7 separate regions of the Homo sapiens genome follow, and all the other regions are linked to region 1. Evidence: promoter capture Hi-C in 16 types of primary human blood cells and fetal thymus (Javierre and others, 2016). All regions are on one chromosome and are shown on one strand. The core of a region is centred on a gene start or on the middle of the fragment in contact, and the rest is flanking DNA. Distances in the headings are between cores, read along the strand shown.

What was found. The method cuts DNA at HindIII sites, captures the fragments that hold promoters and counts their contacts. A CHiCAGO score of 5 or more calls a contact.
Region 2: a contact is called between a fragment that was not itself captured here and the fragment with the promoter of ZNF225 in region 1, in 10 of 17 cell types (erythroblasts, fetal thymus, monocytes and 7 more). The highest score is 14.0, in erythroblasts.
Region 3: a contact is called between a fragment that was not itself captured here and the fragment with the promoter of ZNF225 in region 1, in 15 of 17 cell types (naive B cells, naive CD8 T cells, total CD4 T cells and 12 more). The highest score is 13.1, in naive B cells.
Region 4: a contact is called between the fragment with the promoter of SMG9 here and the fragment with the promoter of ZNF225 in region 1, in 1 of 17 cell types (total CD8 T cells). The highest score is 5.2, in total CD8 T cells.
Region 5: a contact is called between a fragment that was not itself captured here and the fragment with the promoter of ZNF225 in region 1, in 1 of 17 cell types (erythroblasts). The highest score is 6.2, in erythroblasts.
Region 6: a contact is called between a fragment that was not itself captured here and the fragment with the promoter of ZNF225 in region 1, in 2 of 17 cell types (erythroblasts and M2 macrophages). The highest score is 7.3, in erythroblasts.
Region 7: a contact is called between the fragment with the promoter of ZNF285 here and the fragment with the promoter of ZNF225 in region 1, in 14 of 17 cell types (total B cells, naive B cells, naive CD8 T cells and 11 more). The highest score is 21.0, in total B cells.

What each region holds. Positions count from the first base shown.
Region 1 is chr19:44,111,770-44,114,888 of GRCh38, reverse strand. It overlaps ZNF225 (zinc finger protein 225), which reads right to left and starts at 1,490. Exons shown (of 5, transcript NM_013362.4): 1 at 1,320-1,490. ZNF225-AS1 (ZNF225 and ZNF224 antisense RNA 1) reads left to right here and starts at 1,706. Exons shown (of 2, transcript NR_033341.1): 1 at 1,706-2,067. RefSeq lists an enhancer at 1,037-1,736 and a silencer at 1,429-1,779. The HindIII fragment of the contact is 4,811 bases long and covers 1-2,287 here.
Region 2 is chr19:44,507,279-44,510,397 of GRCh38, reverse strand. All of the region lies in intron 11 of CEACAM20 (CEA cell adhesion molecule 20), which reads left to right. Among named protein-coding and RNA genes, the nearest start is that of ZNF180, 8.3 kb to the right of the region's middle. The HindIII fragment of the contact is 794 bases long and covers 854-1,647 here.
Region 3 is chr19:44,485,870-44,488,988 of GRCh38, reverse strand. All of the region lies in intron 2 of ZNF180 (zinc finger protein 180), which reads left to right. Among named protein-coding and RNA genes, the nearest start is that of ZNF180, 13 kb to the left of the region's middle. The HindIII fragment of the contact is 7,682 bases long and covers 1-3,119 here.
Region 4 is chr19:43,753,370-43,756,488 of GRCh38, reverse strand. It overlaps SMG9 (SMG9 nonsense mediated mRNA decay factor), which reads left to right and starts at 1,527. Exons shown (of 14, transcript NM_019108.4): 1 at 1,527-1,835. RefSeq lists a silencer at 1,747-2,106 and an enhancer at 2,337-2,596. The HindIII fragment of the contact is 6,293 bases long and covers 1-2,151 here.
Region 5 is chr19:44,416,937-44,420,055 of GRCh38, reverse strand. No RefSeq gene overlaps it. Among named protein-coding and RNA genes, the nearest start is that of ZNF285, 17 kb to the right of the region's middle. The HindIII fragment of the contact is 2,484 bases long and covers 388-2,871 here.
Region 6 is chr19:43,814,124-43,817,242 of GRCh38, reverse strand. It overlaps a transcript of LYPD5 not described here. Among named protein-coding and RNA genes, the nearest start is that of ZNF283, 12 kb to the left of the region's middle. The HindIII fragment of the contact is 4,808 bases long and covers 1-3,119 here.
Region 7 is chr19:44,400,102-44,403,220 of GRCh38, reverse strand. ZNF285 (zinc finger protein 285) reads left to right here and starts at 1,613. Exons shown (of 4, transcript NM_152354.6): 1 at 1,613-1,653. RefSeq lists an enhancer at 1,460-2,216. The HindIII fragment of the contact is 3,728 bases long and covers 1-1,960 here.

The sequences.
Region 1 (3,119 bases), core at 241-2,740:
AACAAAGTTGAGATCACCAATGAAGTGACAAACTGACATATGGCCCCTGTTATGTTGCAATAAGAAATTTACCACTTCAGGCTGGGCACGGTGGCTCATGCCTGTAATCCCACACTTTGGGAGGCCAAGGCGGTTGAATCACCTGAGGTCAGGAGTCTGAGACCAGCCTGGCCAACATGGTGAAATCCCTTCTCTACTAAAAATACAAAAATTAGCCGGATGTGGTGGCAGGCACCTGTAATCCCAGCTACTTGGGAGGCTGAGGCAGGAGAATAGCTTGAACCCAGGAGGTGGATGTTGCAATGAGCTGAGATCGTGCCATGCACTACAGCCTGGGCGACAAGAGCGAAACTCCGTCTCAAGAAAAAAAAAGAGAGAGAGAGATTTACCACTTCTGTGGTATTCCAGCAAAAAATGCATATTTTGAAGTTAAACGTGAAATACATCAGAAAAACTCCAAATGAACATCTTTGACCAAAATAACTTCATCTATACTCTTCAAAAATAACAAGGATAAAATACCAAGAAAAAACGATGAAAGCTATGCTATCTTTCAAGATTAAAGACTAGAAAAACATGACAACTGAAAGCAACACCCATGCCCGAAGACACATCCTATACACTCTCGGTTGGGGTGAGCATCTCTGTCAAAGAAAAAAGCCAAGGATCACTCACGTAGAGCTTTGCCCTCAGAAGCCAAGAAGTCCCTCCCTGCAGCTCTTTTGGAAAGGTCGGGCTGGGTAAGGAGAAGGCTGTGAAACACTCTGACCGTGGTCGCCGTGCCCCATAAAAGTTAAATGCTCCTCTCCCCTCCTGGAAGTGGATGCAACCCTCGCCTTCCTAAAAGAGAGGTCAGAAGGCGTCCGGGATCACCCAGCGTCTTGCAGGAATCAGGGAGAAGGGCCGGTGCCCCTGCAGCTGGAGTTTCACCCCACCCGGGGACCTGACAGGCTTCGTGGGAAATTAACAAGAGACCACCAGTCACCAAGTGACAGGGGCTGCTTTAAGGCTCTCATTTGTGTTACCGCTTTCAGTTCCCAAAACGATTCTATTAGGATGGTCCTAAACTCCCCATCTTAAAGAACTGTAACGGGAGACCCAAGGAGATTAAGTAACATCCCAGCGTTTTATCGCGAGGAAGTGGCCACGCGCGTGGGGTGCAGGGAGGCCGAGTGGGCGAGCTCAGAGCCCCGGAGACCCTAAAACCAGGCGAGACGCGACCCGACCAAGTCCCAAACACCCCGGGGACGCGAGGAGAGCCCCAAGCCCAAGAAGGCTCCACTGACGAGAACGAAAACAGCGGCCCCGCTCCGCCAAACCTCTGCTCTCCGACGAGGTTTCTTTTCCCCTAATTCGATCACCAGTTCGTTAAGGATCCAATGCGTAGGTCCAGGAAATTCAGAAGGGTCTCGCGGAACTGACCCAAACTACCAGGGACAAAACTGCAGCAACCTCACAGTAACGGAGCGGAAGTGGCCCGCTACTCCACTGAGTGTCTGGACTCCACTTCCCAGAATTCCTGAGACAAACTGACCGCGACGACCCCGAGCGTCTGGACTACACTTCCCAGAATTCCCTGGGATCCACCTGCCGGAGTCAAATTGACCGAGACTCCACTGAGCGTCTGGACTACATTTCCCAGAAATCCCCTGATTCGCCTGCCGGAGCCAAGCTGACCGCTACTCCACTGAGCGTCTGGACTACCATTCCCAGAATTGCTTGTATCCTCCTTCTGGAGCCAGTGTGTACGACTCCACAGAGCATTTGGATTACACTCCTCCGAATGCTGAAGGAAAAACGCTCAAAATCTCATTCTTCAGGGGGAAGCGTTGCCACTCCGAGGTGCCCACTGGGAACGAATCCCAAAGCCACGAGCGCCTGCCTAGTGGGGAATGTGAACTGTTATCCTGAGAGTCGTCCTTCTCTCTCCCTGGTCCAGGACAGAAAATACTGAATAGACAGGAATTTCTGAAGTCTAAACGCCTCCAATGATAACAGGAGTGTTATTGGAAAGGGAACAAGCGAGAAGACACAGTCTTCGAGGAGTTAAGTTTTGCTAATCTAATGGTAAGAAATGGTTTCTAAATGTAGTTTTAATTTGTATTTGTTCTTTTGTAAATAAAGTGGAACATCCGTGCATATTTTCCGTTGCCACTATTATAGTCTTTGTGAATTGGTCAAATAGTTTGCCCACATTTCTATTGAGTGTTTAGTTTTTTCCCCTCCGTTAAGTATTATTTACATACTCATATTAACATTGTATCAAATATTGCTCAACCAAAAAGCTTTTTTCCTTTGACTTGTTTTTCGCTATGCAAAACGTTTTTAACGTGGTCGTTTTATTATTTAAAAAATATTTTTGAGGTGTAATTCACAAAACAAAATTATTTTAAGGCACATAATTCAATGGCAATGGCATCTAGTACGAATACAGTGTTGTTAATATATACGAGTTAAGAAGCCATCACTTAGGCAGATAGGGTATGGGAGCCCTCGGTAAGGCTTTTCTTTTTAATGAAAAGCAGCCCCAAATTATTTCCCTTCCTAAGGAAGAGCAGCCTGTAAAATCCAGCTGCCGCAGACATAGATACCAGCAGTTGTGCCAATCATGTTAAAGATGGCGGCTCCATCTTCCCTTCTCTTTGTCAGCCACGTGCACAGTAAGAAGCTGGCAAGATGGGCCAATCAACTGGGAAGCCTATTTGCATAAGAAGATTAGGGTGGGGCGACCAGCCTTCCCCACGCACTATGTAAACGTCATAACTGATCGAACCAATCTATGACCCCTATGTAAATCAGACACTGCCTCCTCAAACTGGTCTGTAAAACTCAGCACATTCACTGCCAGCCGACCCTTTTCCGCTCGGAGACCCCTTCCTCTATGGAGGAACCCGTTTCTCTTTCTCTTCTTCCTATTAAACCTCCGCTCCTAAACTGAGGAGTTTTTGTGTGTCCGTGTCCTAAATTTTTCTGGCGCTTAACGACGAACCCCGGGTTTAAACCTCAGACAAAGTAGCTGCTTCATTGTGAAACCACCACCTCTTGAATTACAAAACATTTTTATCACCCAAAGAAAACCCCATGCCCACTAAGCAATCACTACTGTTGTCCATAATCCC
Region 2 (3,119 bases), core at 1-2,500, 400 kb before region 1:
AGGACTGCAGGCACGAGCCATCACACCCAGCTAATTTTTGTATTTTTTGGTAGAGACGGGATTTCACCATGTTGGCCAGGCTGGTCTTGAATTCCTGACCTCAATTGATCTGCCCGCCTTGGCCTCCCAAAGTGCTGAGATTACAGGAATGAGCCACCCTGCCTGGCTCATTCCATGCCTTTTCATTCCATTCCACTCAGCTTTGTTTGATCCCTTTACACTCCTTTCCATCTCTTTCTTATTTCATTCCTTTTCATTCTTTTCCTTTCTTTCTATTGCATTTTATCCATTTTTATTTTTTCTTTTAATTCCTTTCAATTCATTTATTTTACATTCCATTACACTCTGTTTTATTCCAGCCCACTCAATTCCCATCCCACGACTTTATTTCGTTTCCATTCTTATTCTTCCCATCCCATTTCAGTCTTCTTATTTCCATCCATATATTTAATCCATTTCATCCGTTCTATTTCCTACCTCTCCATTCCTTCCTAGGCAATGTCCCTATTTACATTCATTTCCATTTGATTGGTTTTCACTTCATTCCACTACATTCCAGTTCTTATTCTTTATATTTCTTTTCCATTCAATTTTTCTTTTTTCCCATTCCCTTCTTTCTTTTCCATTCACTTTCTCTTCTCCATACCCTTCCCTTTCATTCAATTCTATTTCACTGTTTTCCATTCCTCTCCCTCTGTTCTCTTCAATTCCTTTCCCTTTTCATTTCTTTCCAATCCACCCCACTCTATTCTATTCCATTCCATTCTACTGCATGTTTTCTCACTTCATCCTCTCCCTTCATGCCCTTTATGGCACTTCATTCCCTTGTCTTTATTACTTTCCTTTTCAAGCTTTCCATTTAATTTCTTCTTTTCAAGTCATTCCATTCCACTCCTTTTCATTTCATTTAAGTTCTTTCCATTTCTTTCCAGTCCTTTGCATTTCCTACTCTTTATACCATTGATTTCAGTTTCATTTCATTTCATTATTTTATATTCCATGGCATTCCATTTCCCCCCTTTTCTGTTTTTTTTTTAATTTCGTTGCTTTATTTTTATTCTTTAATGTTATACTTTCCTTCTACTATATTACTTTTCTCTAATTTCCTCTCCACTTCTCTCCCCTCATTACCTTATTTTATTACTCTCTTTTCTGCTCCATTTTATTTTACTTTATTTCTTTCTTTCTGTTACAATTTTCCTTTTCATTTAATTTCTTTCATTTGCACTTCTTTGGACATCATGCCATTTTATTTCACTCCATTCTCTGCCTTTAATTTTTATTGTATTCCTTTCTGTCCTATTCAATTTCCCTCCATTTCATTTATGCCTTTGCCATCTCTTTCAGTTACATTCCTAAATAGTCTATTCCTTTTCATTCATTTCCTTTCCTTTCCAATCTTTCATTTCATTCATGATATTTACTTCCCCACATTTTTCTCATGGGAGATTTGAAGCAGTTTTTCCCATGGAAGATTTGAAGCAGTTTATATACAACACTACAAAATGGTGTTAAATTAGAAATAGAAATTACAATCAGAAAAAATATTTTTAACAATAGCAAGAAGTCAATATATGGGTAAAAAGTAAAAATATATACTGGGCCTACGTGATATCTGCCACTATATCTCTTATGTGTCTCTAAGCTTCCTGGTAACAATAAAACAGAGAGGTATGATTAGTTACATCATTCAAAAAGAAGAAAACTGGGCCAGGCGCGGTGGCTCACGCCTGTAATCCCAGCACTTTGGGAGGTGGAGGCGAGCAGATCACTTGAGGTCAGGAGTTAGAGACCAGCCTGGCCATCATGGTGAAACGCTGTCTCTACTGAAAATACAAAAATTAGCTGGGCATGGTGGCAGGCACCTGTAATCCCAGCTACTTGGGAGGCTGAGGCAGAAGAATCACTTGAACCTGGGAGGCGGAGGTTGCAGTGAGCTGAGGTCGAGCTACTGCACTCCAGCCTGGGCAACAGAACAAGACCTTGTCTCAGAAAGAAAAAAATAAAAAAGAAGAAAACTATTAGTTCATCCAGGCATAAGCAAAATTCCAGTAACAAGTTTAGAGCAGTCAAGTGATGGCTCCATAGTTCTAAGGACTAGTAGAATTATTTTAGAGAATGCAAGTGATCTCAACCCTGTCATCAGGACAGCCAGATTACTCCAATTCCAAGAATGGACTTCAGATTCTATATTCTGAACAAGCCAGTGACCAGTCAGAATTTATCCAGAGGAGGAATAAGAGAGAGGCCAGAACAGGGGCTCAAATCCATGTCCTACTGACAGGGTTTTCTTGGGTTTGGAAAAGAGAAAGTTTAGGGACAGAGAACTCCAATATTTTAGTGTCTGACAGGCTTCAAGTAGAGGGATAAATGTGTTCCTTGTTGTTCCAGAGGGCACATAAATTACCATGGAGGATAGGTAAAAGAAGGGTAGATTTTAGCCTAACAGACAGATAACTATTCTTGAAAAATGTGAATATCCTATACACCTTTTTAGTTTTTTGAGACAACGTATTGCTCTTTCACCCAGGTTGTGTGCAGTAGTGCGATCATGGCCAACTGCAGCCTCAGATTCCTGGGCTCAAGCGATCATCCCACCTTGGCCTCCCAGAGTATTGGGATTACAGACGCAAGCCACTGCACCTGGCTGAATGTTTCATATATTAATATCTTAGTCAAGAATTTTTAATGTTAAGAAAGTTAAACCCTTTGAATGTAGTTCGAATGGGGATTAATTGAGAGAACACTGAGAAATATCAGATAACTCAATTTCAGAAATTACTCCTGGGCCTCTTGGCGACTTGAATGCTATCAAGAAGCTGTTTCTCTCTTATTATACAGTTTCTCATTTTCACTAATCTATGAATTCATCTCATTCTTCTCAATCCAGATTGAATTTCTATGTAAATGTCCTGGTCATTGCTTCTCTATAACTTCAGAGTATATATAACAACATCTTCTGCTGCCCTTTAAGCATTTCTAGGTTCAAATTCTCCATAGAAGAATCAGATTGATTCAGGCCATGGTATGGATCATGTTTAGTTTTGTCAGCTCTCTAATCAGCTTTGAACTGGTAAAAACTTAGCCACCTAAGTCCCTCTCTTCACCAGTGTCTGCGT
Region 3 (3,119 bases), core at 241-2,740, 370 kb before region 1:
GGCGGAGGGGCTCCTCACTTCTCAGACGGGGCGGCTGCCGGGCGGAGGGGCTCCTCACTTCTCAGACGGGGCGGTTGCCAGGCAGAGGGTCTCCTCACTTCTCAGATGGGGCGACCGGGCAGAGATGCTCCTCACCTCCCAGACGGGGTTGCGGCCGGGCAGAGGTGCTCCTCACTTCCTAGATGGGATGGCCGCCGGGCAGAGACGCTCCTCACTTTCCAGACTGGGCAGCCAGGCAGAGGGGCTCCTCACATCCCAGACAATGGGCAGCCAGGCAGAGACGCTCCTCACTTCCCAGACGGGGTGGCAGCTGGGCAGAGGCTGCAATCTTGGCACTTTGGGAGGCCAAGGCAGGCAGCTGGGAGGTGGAGGTTGTAGCGAGCCGAGATCACGCCACTGCACTCCAGCCTGGGCACCATTGAGCACTGAGTGAACGAGACTCCGTCTGCAATCCCAGCACCTTGGGAGGCCGAGGCTGGCGGATCACTCAGGTTAGGAGCTGGAGACCAGCCCGGCCAACACAGCGAAACCCCGTCTCCACCAAAAAAATACGAAAACCAGTCAGGCGTGGCGGCGCACGCCTGCAATCGCGGGCACTCGGCAGGCTGAGGCAGGAGAATCAGGCAGGGAGGTTGCAGTGAGCCGAGATGGCAGCAGTACAGTCCAGCTTCGGCTCGGCATCAGAGGGAGACCGTGGAAAGAGAGGGAGAGGGAGACCGTGGAAAGAGAGGGAGAGGGAGACCGTGGAAAGAGAGGGAGAGGGAGAGGGAGACCGTGGAAAGAGAGGGAGAGGGAGACCGTGGAAAGAGAAGGAGAGGGAGACCGTGGAAAGAGAGGGAGAGGGAGACCGTGGAAAGAGAAGGAGAGGGAGACCGTGGAAAGAGAGGGAGAGGGAGACCGTGGGGAGAGGGAGAGGGAGAGGGCAAGGGCGAGGGCGAGGGCGTCAAGTTTATTTTTAAAAGTAGTCTGGGCACGGTGGCTCACGCCTGTAATCCCAGCACTTTGGGAGGCCAGTGTGGGCAGATCACAAGGTCAAGAGGTCAAGACCATCCTGGCCAACATGGTGAAACCCCATCTCTACAAAAAATACAAAAATTAGCTGGGCGTGGTGATGTGCGCCTGTAGTCCCAGCTACTTAGGAGGCTGAGGCAGGAGAGTCACTTGAACCCCGGAGGTGGAGGTTGCAGTGAGTTGAGATCATGCCACTGCACTCCAGCCTGGGGACAGCGCGAGACTCTGTCTCAAAACCAAAACCAAAACAAACAAACAAACAAAAAAGTAAAAGAATAAGGAATGGCTACTCCATAAGCAGAGCAGCCCCAGGGGCTTCTGGTTGCCCATTTTTATGGTTATTTCTTGATTTTCTGCTAAACAAGGGGTGGATTATTCATGAGTTTTCCAGGACTGGGGTGGGCAATTCCCAGAACTGAGGGTTCCTCTCCTTTTTAGACCATAGAGGGTAACTTCCTGACAAAACTGTCATGGCGCTGAGACCAGCAGTTTGAGACCAGTCTGGGCAACATGACGAGACCCTGTCTTCTACAAAAAATAAAAAGGCAGTTTAACTGTTGTAGTATGTGTGGTAGTAATGCAAGCAACACAACCTCTTGGCTTTCACATTGGGCCTTCTTTACATTGCAGCAGCTCTGGCTCTTTGATACTTATTGTGAACCTCACAACCTACCCAGTAAATATACAGTGGTGTTTTTAGGTTTGGAGAATCCTTTCCTACCTTTAAATACATTAATGCTAGCCATTTTTAATAACCATTCCTACTGTAATAGTAAAATATTTTCTAGATAGATAAGGAGAAAAAATTGACACACTTATACCTTGACCTCTCCACATCAAGTGATCCTCCCATCTTTGCCTCCCAAGTAGCTGGGACTGTAGGCACATACCACCGTGCCTGGCTTATTTATTTATTTATTTATTTATTATTTTTTGAGATGGAGTCTCACTCTCTTGCCCAGGCTGGAGTGAAGTGGCATGGTCTCAGCTTGCTGCAAACTCCAACTTCCGGTTCAGGTGATTCTCATGCCTTAGCCTCCCAAGTAGCTGGGACTACAGGTATACCACACCTAGCTAATTTGTATTTTTTTGTATTTTTAGTAGAGATGGGGTTTCGCCATGTTGACCAGGCTGGTCTCGAACTCCTGAGTTCAGGCAATCTGCCCACCTCGGCCTCCCAAAGTGCTAGAATTACAGGTGTGAGCCACCATGCCCGGCCTATTTTATATATTTTGTATAGACAGGGGAGCCTCACTGTGTTGCTGAGGCTGGGCTCGAACTCCTGGGCTCAAGTGATCCTTCCACCTCAGCCTCCCAAAGCACTGTGATTACAGGTATGAACTGCTGCACCTGGCCACTTTTATTTTCTTTTAGTTTTTGATCCAATGGCTTCTAAAGAAATGAGTTATCAAAAATTAGCAGTAGTTGCTTTTCAGTGTTTGATTTGAGGAGGAGCAAAGTATCCTTGAATGGGCTATCATTTAACAGACTGAATTATTGTATCCTGTAGGAAAAAACCTGAGGACACTACAAAGGAATTGCGTTGTTTCAAGGTGATTTTTAAAGAGGGAAGCACCTTTCCTGGTTTCCAAATATTTAATTAAAATAAGTGGTTTTGAAAAACATGGATGCAGCATTAAAAGAGAGACAGTGAACCTGCTCCTCAGTTCTACCCCTTCAAAGAATAACTCCTTTTAATGCTTTTGAGAACATCTTTCCAGATTTTTCCGTGCATATTTATATTTTATAGAAATCTATTCATCTTCTGTATAATGTTCTTCATTTTTTCACTCAGCAATATATTATAGACATCTTTCTATTATTTATATGTATCGGTACATGCAAATTTATTTCTTCTCTTGGCTGCTAAATAATATTCAGTCATCTGAATAAAGCATAATTTATTTAACCAGGCACTTCCTAGTGGACATTTAGTCTCCCTTCCCATCTTGCTATGATAATGTAACTTGCTAATGAGGTTTCTTGTATATGCATCCTGATGTACTTTATGTTATTTCCTAAGGATAAGTACTTACAAGTAGACTTAATGGATGTTACATTACACTTTTAAAAATATTGCCTTTAAAAAAACAAAAATAAAAGAATGT
Region 4 (3,119 bases), core at 278-2,777, 360 kb after region 1:
CAACTATCAGCATGGTAGACCACAAAATAATACACAGAGACAACACACAGTACCATTAGGCAACAGGCACTGTTCTATGCACTCTCACCCATTTAATGCTGGCGGCAATGTTGTAAGTAAGGTTATACCACACCCAATTCACAAACAGGGACGTAGAAGTAGAGAGTATTAAGTCACTTGGTCAAGCTCAGCCGCTATTTATATGAACTCAACACATGCTCTTAACTCCAATGCTTTATTATAACAGCAGCTCCAGAAGGAAACCGGGAACCAGTGCTTTAGGAAAGGAAAATGGGAACCAGAGGTGGAAACTTACTTTTATTGTATACAGCCAGAGAGGTTTGAATTGTGTATGTACATGTAATACCTGTTCAAATATAATTTTAAAAAACTTTTTTTTAGACCAGCCACGGTGGCTCACGCCTGTCATCCTAGCACTTTAGGAGGCCGAGGCGGGCGGATCACTTGAGGTCAGGAGTTCGAGACCAGCCTGGCCAACATGGCAAAACCCAGTCTCTACTAAAAATACAAAAAATTAGCCAGGCGTGGTGGACGCCTGTAATCCCAGCTATTTGGGAGGCTGAGGCAGGAGAATCGCTTGAATTTCAGGAGGTGGAGACGGCAGTGATCCGAGATCTCGCCACTGCACGCCAGCCTGGGTGACAGGGCGAGACTCCGTCTCTAAATAAATAAATAAAATAAAAATAAATAAAATTTCAAATAAAAAGCTAGAACCTTCCCATCCACCCACTCTGCCCACTGGGGAACTGCCGACCCTTCCGAATGCGCATGCGCTCTCCAGGCCGCGCCCGTCGCCCAATGTTCCTCTTTGGCGCGCGCAAGACTCCGCCCACGTGTGTTTAAATTTTCGACCCTGGAGCGGATTCCCTTCTCCAACGCGGCCTTCGAGGGTTTTAAACATAGTTCTGTCTCAGACTATTCTGCATCTCCCAGGCCTTAAGGATAAAACTGACACTGGAGACCCTTCAGGGTCTGACCTGCCCATTCTGCTGCCTCACCTCCCACCCAGGTGGACCCTGAATCCAAGCCAGTCTAGACCTCTTCCCCCGGGGTCTTCGCCGCCTTTGCTTAGCTGTTCCCTGGAGTACCCTCGCCTGCCTGTCCTTCAAGGTCCAACCGGACCCGCGCCCTTTCCTAAGTGATTTGAGGCCCTGGCAGTCTCTCCACAGGCCGGGGTGTCTTCCAGGGCGCACGCCAAGTCTGATTCATTCATGTGTTCTTGGCACTCAGCCCAGAACAGTGAAATTCCTCCCTGTCGTCCCACCCCACTGCATCCCGCCAACATCACCGAAGAGGCACAACTCGAACCCCAGATCCGGGCCGCTCTCCCTCCTGCCGGCTCCTCGGCGTATCCATTTCCCTACTCATCTCCCCACCCTCAACCCCCCAACCGCGCGCACGCGCATTGAGTCAGAGCCGCGGCGTCCTCCCGCCTCCCGCTCCGGAACCCGCATGCGTGCTGAAGCCGACCGCCTCCATCCACGCACGCTCAGCCCGGCGAGCGCATTCAGTTCTCGAGCTCCAGCCCTCAGCGCATGCGCAGGACGAGTCGCCTGAGGGAACTGATCTCAGCTCGGGCCCGCGTTACATCCTCCTCCTCTTCTTCCTTCGGCCCAGCTTTCCTTAGGGGCTGCAACCCGGACGCCGAGGCCGGTTTCGGAGTGGGGAGTGCCCATTTTCTCTCCTTCCCACGTTCCTGGCCCCCAGACGCCATTTGCAGGCGGGTGGCTTGGGTCAGCCTCCCCGCCCCCACCCGACTCCCGTCACGGGAGAGCGCACACCGCGCCCCGAGAACCAATCAGCAGCCGCGTTAGGTAAGGGGGCCGCGAGCCCGCGCGAGGCTAGCGCACCGGCGGCGGGCGGGGCGCTCCGGCAGGCCCCGCCCCCGCCTTGGCCATTGAAAGGTCGCTGGGACGTCCGGCGGGGGTGCGGCACTGAGTAGGGGGCCGGCGACCGTCAATTCGATACTGGGTTGGCAGGAATGGGGGCGGGGGACGGAAATAACGTGTAAATGAGAAACTTATGCTCTGCGAGATCCAAGTACAGCCTGCAAACTGCCCGTCAAGTACTGGGGAGGCCGCCCCAATAACGTGTAACGAGAAACTTGAGTTGGGTTCCCCGAGGGAAGCTTTGTAAAGCAATGCCTAAATCCGGGGGAGGCTCCCTTCTAGAACCCCGTAGAGAGAAGTTTAAATCCTAGGGAGTCCTTAGGAAAATGTGCAAATCGACTACAGTTCTGGGCTGGGGAGTGCCCCACGAAGTGGGCTTACATACTCAGGAATCGGGAGAGTCTCCCCAAATATTTGCAAATAGTGAGGTTCTGGGAGATCCCCGAAGGGAGTGTGTGAAGCGATGCCTAAATACTGAGGAGACACTCCCCAAAAATATGTAAATTCGATTTGTTAATTTTCGGGAAGTCACCCTAGAAGTCCATCAGCAGACACTTAAATAGACCAGCTTTCCTAAGTTTGGGGGTAATCCCCAAAGGAGCCCGGAAACAGCATTGGAAGTCCCCAGCTTGCATGTGGGTGGGGTTTTTTTTTTTTTTCTTTGAGACAAGAGTCTCGCTCTGTCGCCCAGGCTGGAGTGCAGTGGCACGATCTCGGCTCACTGTATCCTCCACACCTGGTTTAGGTGGGCTTTTAAGTTCCAAGGAACTCCCCACATTCAGATACTGTGGAAGCTCCCAGAATAAAGGGCACAGGGAGGCCAGGTGCGGTGGCTTACCCGGGGAATCCGATCACTTTGGGAGACCGAGGCTGGCGAATCACTTGAGGCCAGGAGTTCGATACCAGCCTGGCCAACATGGCGAAACCCCGTCTCTACTGAAAATGCAAAACTTAGCCCGGCCTGGTGGTATGCACCTGTAATCCCACCTACTTGGGAGGCTGAGGCAGGAGAATTGCCTGAACCCGGGAGGCAGAGGCCGCAGCCAGCTGAGATCGTGCCACTGCACTCCAGCCTGGGCAACAGAGCAAGACCGTCTCAAAAAAAAAAAAAAAAAAAAAAGAAAAGCATTCACACAGGGGCGCTTACTTTGCACAGGAAAGGGCATCCTCATAGGCCAGTAAACAGAAACCTCAGGGCTGGGCAGTATC
Region 5 (3,119 bases), core at 380-2,879, 310 kb before region 1:
TAGGAAAAAACAGGAGTATTGATTGGGGAAATGATAAACGTCCATGAAATATTCACAATTTATGTTCTTCTGCCATGGCTTCAGCCTGTCCCAACGTTCGGAGTCCCTGACTTCCCGCAACATCTCTCCCATTTTTTTTTTTTTTTATATAAATGTGCCAAGGTGATGAAGGCTTGTTCGTTCTCTCAATTTTGACTCAGGATTCTTTGACTGGTTCCACACACTAAAGACAAGCTGATTAAACAGAGAAACATATTTCCAAAATTCACTGCAGAGGAGCCCCCAATAGACTTAATCCAAGTCATGGGGTTTAATCCATAAAGATTTTCTGCCACCTGATCTAACACCTCAGCTCCAGGCACAATGGATAAGTGAGCTTGAGAAGCTTCAAAAATTTGTTTCTTTAATTTATCTTAAATTAAATGATAAATTATCTTCCCTACCCAGAAGGTGTCCTTTGACCATTTACCATGAATGATCAGTCTCTTTATAGGAACATGGGGTGATACAGAAATCTGAAGTGTTCCAATCACACTGCATTTGCATTCGATGTTTGAGACTCACTACCCAATCTCCAAGCCAAGTAACAGACTGTCTTAAATAATTAATTTGATTAGCCAATTTTTGATCAATGCCTTGTTGAGAATTCCACATTTGGGTGGAATTGGCTTGCCAATCATTAACAAAATGAGCCTTTTGAATAGACTGATGTAACACCATTCTGGCAGTGGTGGCCATTGCAGTGACACTGCAGCCACTGCTCTGCTCTGGGAAGATCTGGGCACAGGCCCGCCAGGGTGGGTTTAAATAGCCTCAGGTGCAGCCTGGCAGCAGAAAGGGCGGAGCTTCACTCCTCCTTTCATGTGTCTCCCCCAACTTTTCCAGGCTCCATCTCCTAGGAAACTGCTCTCCTGATTTGATGTCATGTGACGCATTTGGGACAATCTAAGAAATTAGAAATTTTGTTGGCCAAATATATTATTAATTAAATGCATTGAAAACTATCTAGTGCTGTGGTTCTCACGTTGTGGTTTTGAGACCAGCAGCATCCTTGCAACCCTCAAGCCCCGGAGATCCACAAATCTAGGTTCTCTCAAGCCTTCCCCCTGACCCTGATGTATGGCAGTTTAAGAATTACCCATGTAAGCAAAAAGACTTTTAAGAAAAAGTGGAGATATGCATTGTATAAACATTCTTCTGCTCTGGAACCATGTAGAGACTTTGGGGCCAGGTGGGTGGAGCATTCATAGGATGAGGGTGGTGAGGTTAGGAATATCAAGGTGTGGCTCCAGATAATTAGACCATCTAATTAAGTTTTCAGTTATGCTAATCTGTTTTAAAATTCCGTTTATGTAAATTCTATTACTCAGACCAAGAATGGCAATGCCTCAACCCCAATTTCCAGGGAGGGTTGAGAGCCTGAGGTTGAGTTGATCACCAATAGCCGATGGTTTAACCCATCATGCCTATGTAATGAAGCCTCCATAAAAACAAAAAAGGACTGGGTTTATAGGGCTTCTGGATAAAACTTCCTGGAAGGTAGTGCACCCCTCCCCCCATGCCAGGCCCCATGAATCTTTTTTTCTGAATTTTTTGCAACATCCTCTATAATAAAATGGTAAATGTAAGTGTTTCCCTGTGTGGTGTGAGCTGTTCTAGCAAATTAATTCAACTGAAACAGGGAGTGGTGGAAACCTGATTTATACCCAGTTGGTCAGAAGCACAGGTAAAACAACATAGGACTTGCCATTGTTATTACAGTGGGAGGCGAGTCTTGCAGAACTGAGCCCTGTGGAATCTAATGCTATGGCCAGGTAGATAGTGTCATCATTGAATTAGAAGACACCCAGCTGGCGTCCACAGCAGAATGGATGGTGTGCTTGACTGACCGAGAGAAATCCCCAGACATGTTGTCACAGGAATCTTCTGTGTTGATTGTTGTGATGTGAGAGCAGAGGAAAAACAGTTTTTGTTTTTTTCGCTGAGCCTAAAATGTAAAAGGGTCTATTTTCTCACACTATTTAGGATCACATGATTTATAATAAAAATGTTTAATCTTTGTCAACTTGATATATAAAAAGGATGTTGGTTTTCATTTTATTGCTAACAGTCAAGGTGGTCATAGTTGATGTGTTTTTGTCATTTTTCTTTTCACTGCCTTGTCATGTCTTTCACCCATTTTTTAGTTATTTAATTTTTAATTAAAAAAAAATTTTAGGCCGGGCGCAATGGCTCACACCTGTAATCCCAGCACTTTGGGAGGCTGAGGCGGGTGAATCACGAGATCAAGAGATCGAGACCATCCTGGCCAACATTGTGAAGCCCCGTCTCTACTGATAGTAGAAAAATTAGCCGGGTGTGGTGGTGGGCGCCTGTAGTCCCAGCTACTCAGGAGGCTGAGGCGGAAGCCACTGCACTCCAGCCTGGGTGAAAGAGCAAGACTCCATGTGAAAAGAAAAACAAACAAAAAAACCTGGCTCTTATTAATCCTTTTATTTTTTTCCATCAGGTGAACAATTATGGCATTACGTTATGTGAATTTTTCCAGGTAGGAGATATTGGCCATCCTCTTTTTTTTTTTCTTTTTTTTTTTTTTTGAGAAAGGATCTCAGCCTGTCACCCAGGCTTTAGTGCTATGGTCGGATCAGAGCCTCAAGAGATCCTCAGCCTCTTGAGTAGCTGCAACTACAGGTGTGCACCACTGCACCTGATAATTTTCTTTTATTTTTTTTGTGGAGTCGAGGTCTCACTATGTTGCCCAGGCTTGTCTCAAAATCCTGGGCTCAAGTGATTCTCCTGCCTTGGCCTACCAAAGTGATGGGATCACGGGTGTGAGCCACATCTCCCTGACTCTTCATCCTCTTATAAGCTTATTCCTTTGTATTTCCCTTGCTATTTACTCCTTGTTTCTTTCTGTTTAGGTATTCATCTTATCTATGAACTCTTTTTGTGTATTTTTTCTAGGTTTTGATCTTTTTTCCTGTTATATATATTAACAAGAAAATTACTTTCAAACTGTTGATTGACATTTATTTTCATGGTGATATGTTTTAGAAAGTAATATTTCTTAATATGATGATTTATATTGCTAAATGTAGTAATGATTAATTTCCATGCAT
Region 6 (3,119 bases), core at 209-2,708, 300 kb after region 1:
TCTCATGCCCCCTCCCCCACAATAACCAACCAACCATTAGAACTTTGAGTGAGGCCTGACTATACTATGCAGCTGCAGCCAAACCAGCCCAGAGCAAAAGAAATGCTCAGAAAGCCCCCAGAATTGTGAGAAATAATATTCGTAATTTCAAGCCTCTGAGTTTTGGGGTTACTGATTGTTTTCGTCTGTTTTCATGCTGCTGATAAAGACATACCCAAGACTGGGTAACTGATAAAGAAAAACAGGTTTAATGGACTCATAGTTACACATGCCTGGGGAGGCCTCACAATCATAGCAGAAGAGCAAAAGAGAACAAAGAGACATCTTACATGGCAGCCAGCAAAGAGAATGAGAGCCAAGCAAAAAGGGTTTCCCCTTATAAAACCATCAGCTCTGATAATACTTATTCACTATCATGAGAACGGTATGGGGGAAACCACCCCCATGATTCAGTTATCTCTCACCGGGTTCCTCCCACAACATGTGGGAATTATGGGAGCTACAATTCAAGATGAGATTTGGGTGGGGACACAGCCAAACCGTATCACTTATTATGTGGCCAAAGCTAATTCATAGTGACTACTTTAAATGTAAACAAATAGCAGCTCCAATTTCAGCTGCTATGTCAGATGTGACATCTTTACTGGAGTTGACCAACCTAGTTTTTGGTCCTTAGTATGTGCTTAATGATCTGACAAATGTATTTTACTTGATCTCTGACATTTAGGAGAATTAAAAGCCATTCATGTGTGCATGGTAAGGACTGCAGCACTGTCTTGCCCCAGGTTCCTGATAACCCTCCTAATCTCCGTCATATTGTAGTCCACAGAGGCCTTGATCATCTTTACATTCTGAAGAACATAGCACTGGTTCATTCCACCAATAAAATCATGCTAATTTGACCTGGTGATCAGGAAGTGGCAATCACTGTAGAAGCCATAGTAATGCAAATGAGTGACAGAAAGAGGGAGATAAACCTCATGAATGTTCACTAACTTACCACATCAGTGAAGATTTTAGAAGTCCAATCATCTGGGACATGCCATAGTATCTCCCTTAAGGTAAAGAATAAGTTATTACAACTCACACTTCCTAAACTGATAAACAGGCACATAATTTGGTAGGGCTCTTTGACATTTGAAAGTGATAGATACATGATAGGTAGATAGATAGATAGATAGATAGATAGATAGATAGATAGATAGATAGAGTGGGGCGTGGTGGCTCACACCTGGAATCCCAGCAGTTTGGGAGGCCAAGGCGGGTGAATCGCTTGAGGTTAGGAGTTCGAGACCAGCCTGGCCAACATGGTGAAACTCCATCTCTACTAAAAATACAAAAATTAGGCATGGTGGTGCACACCTGTAGTCCCAGCTACTCAGGAGGCTGAGGCAGGGGAATCGCTTGAAGTCGGGAAGCAGAGGTTGCAGTGAGCTGAGATCGCGCCACTGCACTCCAGCCAGGGTGACAAAGTGAAACTCCGTCTCAAAAATAAAATAAAATAAAATAAAAATAATAGATGGGTATATATAGATGTGTGTTTATATATAACATATATGATTTATATGATACATATATAAATCACACTTCAGAATAGTGTTCTTTTTTTCTCTTTTTTTAATAGTTCTAGGTGTCTTTTATAGCTGGTTTTTGGTTTTGTTTTTGTTTTAGACAGAGTCTTGCTCTATTGCCCAGGCTGGAGTGCAGTGGCATGATCACAGCTCACTGCAGCCTTGACCTCCCTGGCTCAAGTAGATCCTCCCACCTCAGCCTCCCGAGTAACTGGGACTACAGGCACATGCCACCGTGCACAGCTAGTTTTTAAATTTTTTGTGGAGACGGGGTCTCCGTGTGTTGCCCATGCTGGTCTCAAACTCCTTTTTCTTTCTTTCTTTTTTTTTTTAGAAATAGGTTCTCACTATATTGCCCAGGCTGGCCTCAAACTCCTGGCCTCAAACAATCCCCCCACTTTCGGCCTCCCAAAGTGCTGAGATTACAGGCGTGACCCATCATGACTGGCCTGGAATTTTGTTCTGACTCATTTTTCAGATAAACTTGAAGGCTGCTGAGTTTCAAAGCAGGTGAGAGCTCTACAGCAGGTAAAGCCTGCGATGCAATCTCCCTGTCCCTGAGCCACATGAATCAGCAACTTTGATGGTGTCACCTCTATCCATAATGGTTGAAGCTGTTATGTGGAGTCTCTGGCAAGATACAAAAGCAAAATTACAGCCCGTAAGGTTCTGAAGTAAGTCCATTTATTATGCAGCATATAAGTGCTTTCAATTTGAAAACCAGCTGCTGAGTACTAATAGAGTCTGTGATTTTGACCATGGGACATCAAGTATCTATATGACTAAAACTACCTGTCATGAGTTGGGTATCTAACCCACTAAGTCATAGTGCGATTTGGGCACAGTATTAATTCATTGTAAGAGATCTAGATGGCACAAAAGAGTTACACACACAGACAGCTCAGACTCTCATGTCACTGACCTTGGTTGCAGCTATGTTGTTCCTTTAATTCACATTCATGACATCATATGAAGATTTTCCTGTAGAATATTAAGGAAGAAAAGGTCTGGCTCACAGATGGATCAGTGTGACTGATGTATTTTGGAAGCTGAACCTAAATTATCATATTACGGGACCACTACTCAGAGGTGGGTCCTACAGGCAGTGGTGAAGGTAAATCCTGGTGTACAGAGCTGTGATTGGAGATCTTCACTTCATTTGTTTGTTTGTTTGTTTTAGAGACAGGTCTTTCTCTGTTACCCAGGCTGGAGTGCAGTGGCAGGATCATAGCACACTGCAGCCTCAATCTCTTGGGTTCAAGTGATTTTTTCATTTCAGCCTCCCCAGTAGCTAGGACTACAGGTGTGCACCACTACACCTGCTAATTTGTTTTGAATGTTTTGTAGAGATGGGGTCTCCCTATGTTGCCCAGATTGATTTTGAACTCCTGGGCTCAAGCCATCGTCCCGCCTGAGACTCATAAAGTGCTGGGATTACAGGCTGAGCCACCACACCTGGCCCCTTCACTTAAATTGGAGTGAGATGTGGCCCAATGTGCAGATATACATGGGCTCCTGGGAAATGGCCCATGGCTTTCTGTTTGGTCA
Region 7 (3,119 bases), core at 364-2,863, 290 kb before region 1:
AGAGTCTTGCTCTGTCGCCCAGGCTGGAGTGCAGTGGCATGATCTCGGCTCATTGCAACCTCCACCTCCTGGGTTCAAGTGATTCTCTTGCCTCAGCCTCCCAAGTAGCTGGGACTACACGTGCTTGCCACCATGCCTGGCTAAGTTTTGTATTTTTAGTAGCGATGGGGTTTCACCACCTTGGCCAGGCTGGTCTTGAACTCCTCACCGCGTGATCTGCCCACCTCGGCCTCCCAAAGTACTGAGATTACAGGCTTGAGCCACCACGCCCAGACTGGGAACCTTTTTGACATGCACTTTTCAATCGTTGACAGATGCATAATGAAAAAATCTAAGTAAGCACAAATAAGCATGTAGGAAATTTAAATAGCACAGTTAGCAAGTCTGGGGAAAATATAAATGTATGCATATCCATCTGATAGAGAAGACACATTGTTTTCCAACAGACACAGATGTCACAAAAATTAACCTTGTATTAGGTCAAAAATAAAAATGTTCCTGAACTCGTTTTTTAAAATTCAAGTATGTCAAATTAAATCAAGTAATCCTTCAACTTAGAGCAATATATAAGAACATCAAACATGTAAACATCAAAAGACAGAGATAAGCCAAAACAATTGCACTGTCCCTTTATGTGCCCTAAGCTGCGATGTCAAGCTATAGTTGGATATTATTCAACCATTTCCTGCCCATTGCGTAGAGGTGGGGGTCTTCACTTCTCTATCTAGTCTAGGACTGGAACCGCCTCACCACCCCTACAGCTTGAGGGTGCGTGGAAAAGGGAATGCCAGCCAGATATTCCAAACAGAGACTCTGCCAGCAGGACCAGGTGACCTTTCCTAGGAGACAGATTGTTCTCACACGTTATCAGGGCTTTCCTCCAGGCTAAAACTGTGGGCCTCTAATGGAATTCCTATTCAATTTTCTTACCCCATTTAGGGTACCCAAATTTTTCTTTAATAGAAATCTTAAATCTTAAATGCAATAACATGAAGTAAAATAAAGCCTAAGTCTCAACAAGGGCAAATTTTCAAAAAGAATCTGAAAACTTCCCGCGTTTTCTTGTTATGTTGTAATGTGTCTCTTTTAGGACACTCTCAGTACTCCTGCAATTCCCCTGTTAAGGATTCAGACAATAGTTGTTAATTCCTTCTGCTTCTTCTGAGACTAGGAAATAAATTACAGGGCTATGTTATATCGCAAGTGTAGATTATCCAGAGTTTTCATCAACAGAAATAAAACATGGTGGGGGGCGGGGAGGGAATTATTTAAGTGAGTGTTAATTGAAAAGTTTCGTGGTTTTAACGTTAAAAGACATGCCTATAAAATAAGAACTTATAAAAGTCTTCACTAAAACGGTAAAGTGCCCATTTCCAAGTAGTAAAATATTGAAACTTCTTTTCATCGTTGATAGTGATTTATTTAACATTTCATTATTTTATCGTTATTATGATTGTCGTTATTTTAGACGAATGCACGGAAGTCAAAGGACTTCCAAATGCACGGAAGTCAAAGGCCACCTTCACCAGGGTAGCCTTGCGAATGGCCACTGCTGCGCGCGGGGCTTTCTGGGGATTGTAGGCCATAGGCCTCCTTGCGCATGCGCCATGGTACTGGACGCACGCTGCGGGCGACATTGTTTGGGACGCTGGGGTGAGTCCCGTCTGTACCGCGCCCCTCTTGGAGGCGTAGCCAGGAGTAGGAGTGTAGGATGTGCAGCTGTGACCCGTCCCTGTGGACTGAAGTAGGAGGAGTGGAAGAGGGGACTGGTAACCAATGATAAGGCCTCGTAGGTGGGGTAGACTAGGGAAGTTCAGCGGCCCGACCTACCCGGGATAGGATGGGAAGAGCGTGGGCTCGAGCGTGGGCTCGGTTTGGGGAGCAGCCCTGGGTTTGACAAAACAGTGCATCTTCACGTTTCGTGACAGCGACTTGCGCTGTGCCTCCTCGGGTCGAAGCTTAGGGTCAGTCTTGGGATGTGCATCTCTGGATGAGGGCAGAGGGGCGCTGGCTCAGGGTTTTGGAGTAATGGCTGGACTGTGCGTCCCTGAATGGGATGAGGGATTTGCTTAAGCAGCTAGTCTCTGGATATAGAGGATGGCTTCGGCTGTTCTCGCTCAGTTTGGTGGGGGCGATTCTGGCTCAGCACCCCTAGGTTCTTGGATGGGGAGTTGTCTTGGGTCTGAACTCTGGATTTTGGCAGCTCTGACTCCATTGGGGCATTTATGACTTCAAGGCAGAGGTTCTGGCTTTTGGCAATAAAGAAACAACTCAGACTGTAATACTGTAATAACTCCAGAGTTTAATGTCACCGAATACATTTTGAAAAGAACTGTCCCAGGCCTGGCGCGGTGCCTCACGCCTGTAATCCCAGCACTTTGGGAGGCCAAAGTGGGCGGATCACGAGGTCAGGAGATCGAGACCATCCTGGCTAACACGGTGAAACCCCGTCTCTACTACAAAAAACAATTACAAAAAATTAGCCGGGCACGGTGGCAGGCGCCTGTAGTCCCAGCTACTCGGGAGGCTGAGGCAGGAGAATGGCGTGAACCCGGGAGGCGGAGCTTGCAGTGAGCTGAGATCACGCCACTGCACTCCAGCCTGGGCGACAGAGCCAGACTCTGTCTCAAAGAAAAAAGAAAAGAAAAGAACTGCCCCAAATTATTAACTCCATTCTCACCTCACATGCTGTGAGCCAGGGAGTAGGGACTTTGAGTATTATAAAGCACATTAGCAAATATAAGTTGTTAAATTACACTCAACAAATTTGAAGTTTGAACACTCTCTGTATATTTGATAAAGTTAGAGATTTAGTGTTAATTATTTTAGGTGTAATAGCAGCATTTATTACATTTCTGATCGTGTTTCTGGGCAATTGCAGTTCCAGATTCAGCTGCACTTTTCCTCTAGGTCTTCATTCCCTGAAGAAGTTGATATGGGCATCTGGTCTCATTCCTGATGCATTCCTCAGATCAGAGTAGTTGTCAGGGTGAGGGATGAGAAAGGCATTTGTGTGCGAGAGCTGTGTGGACTTTGGCAGATAGGGAAAAAACAAGAGTCTTGAGGTGCCATGTGTCCCATGCCTTTGGCTCCCCACCTTTTCCACCCTGCTGTCTGCC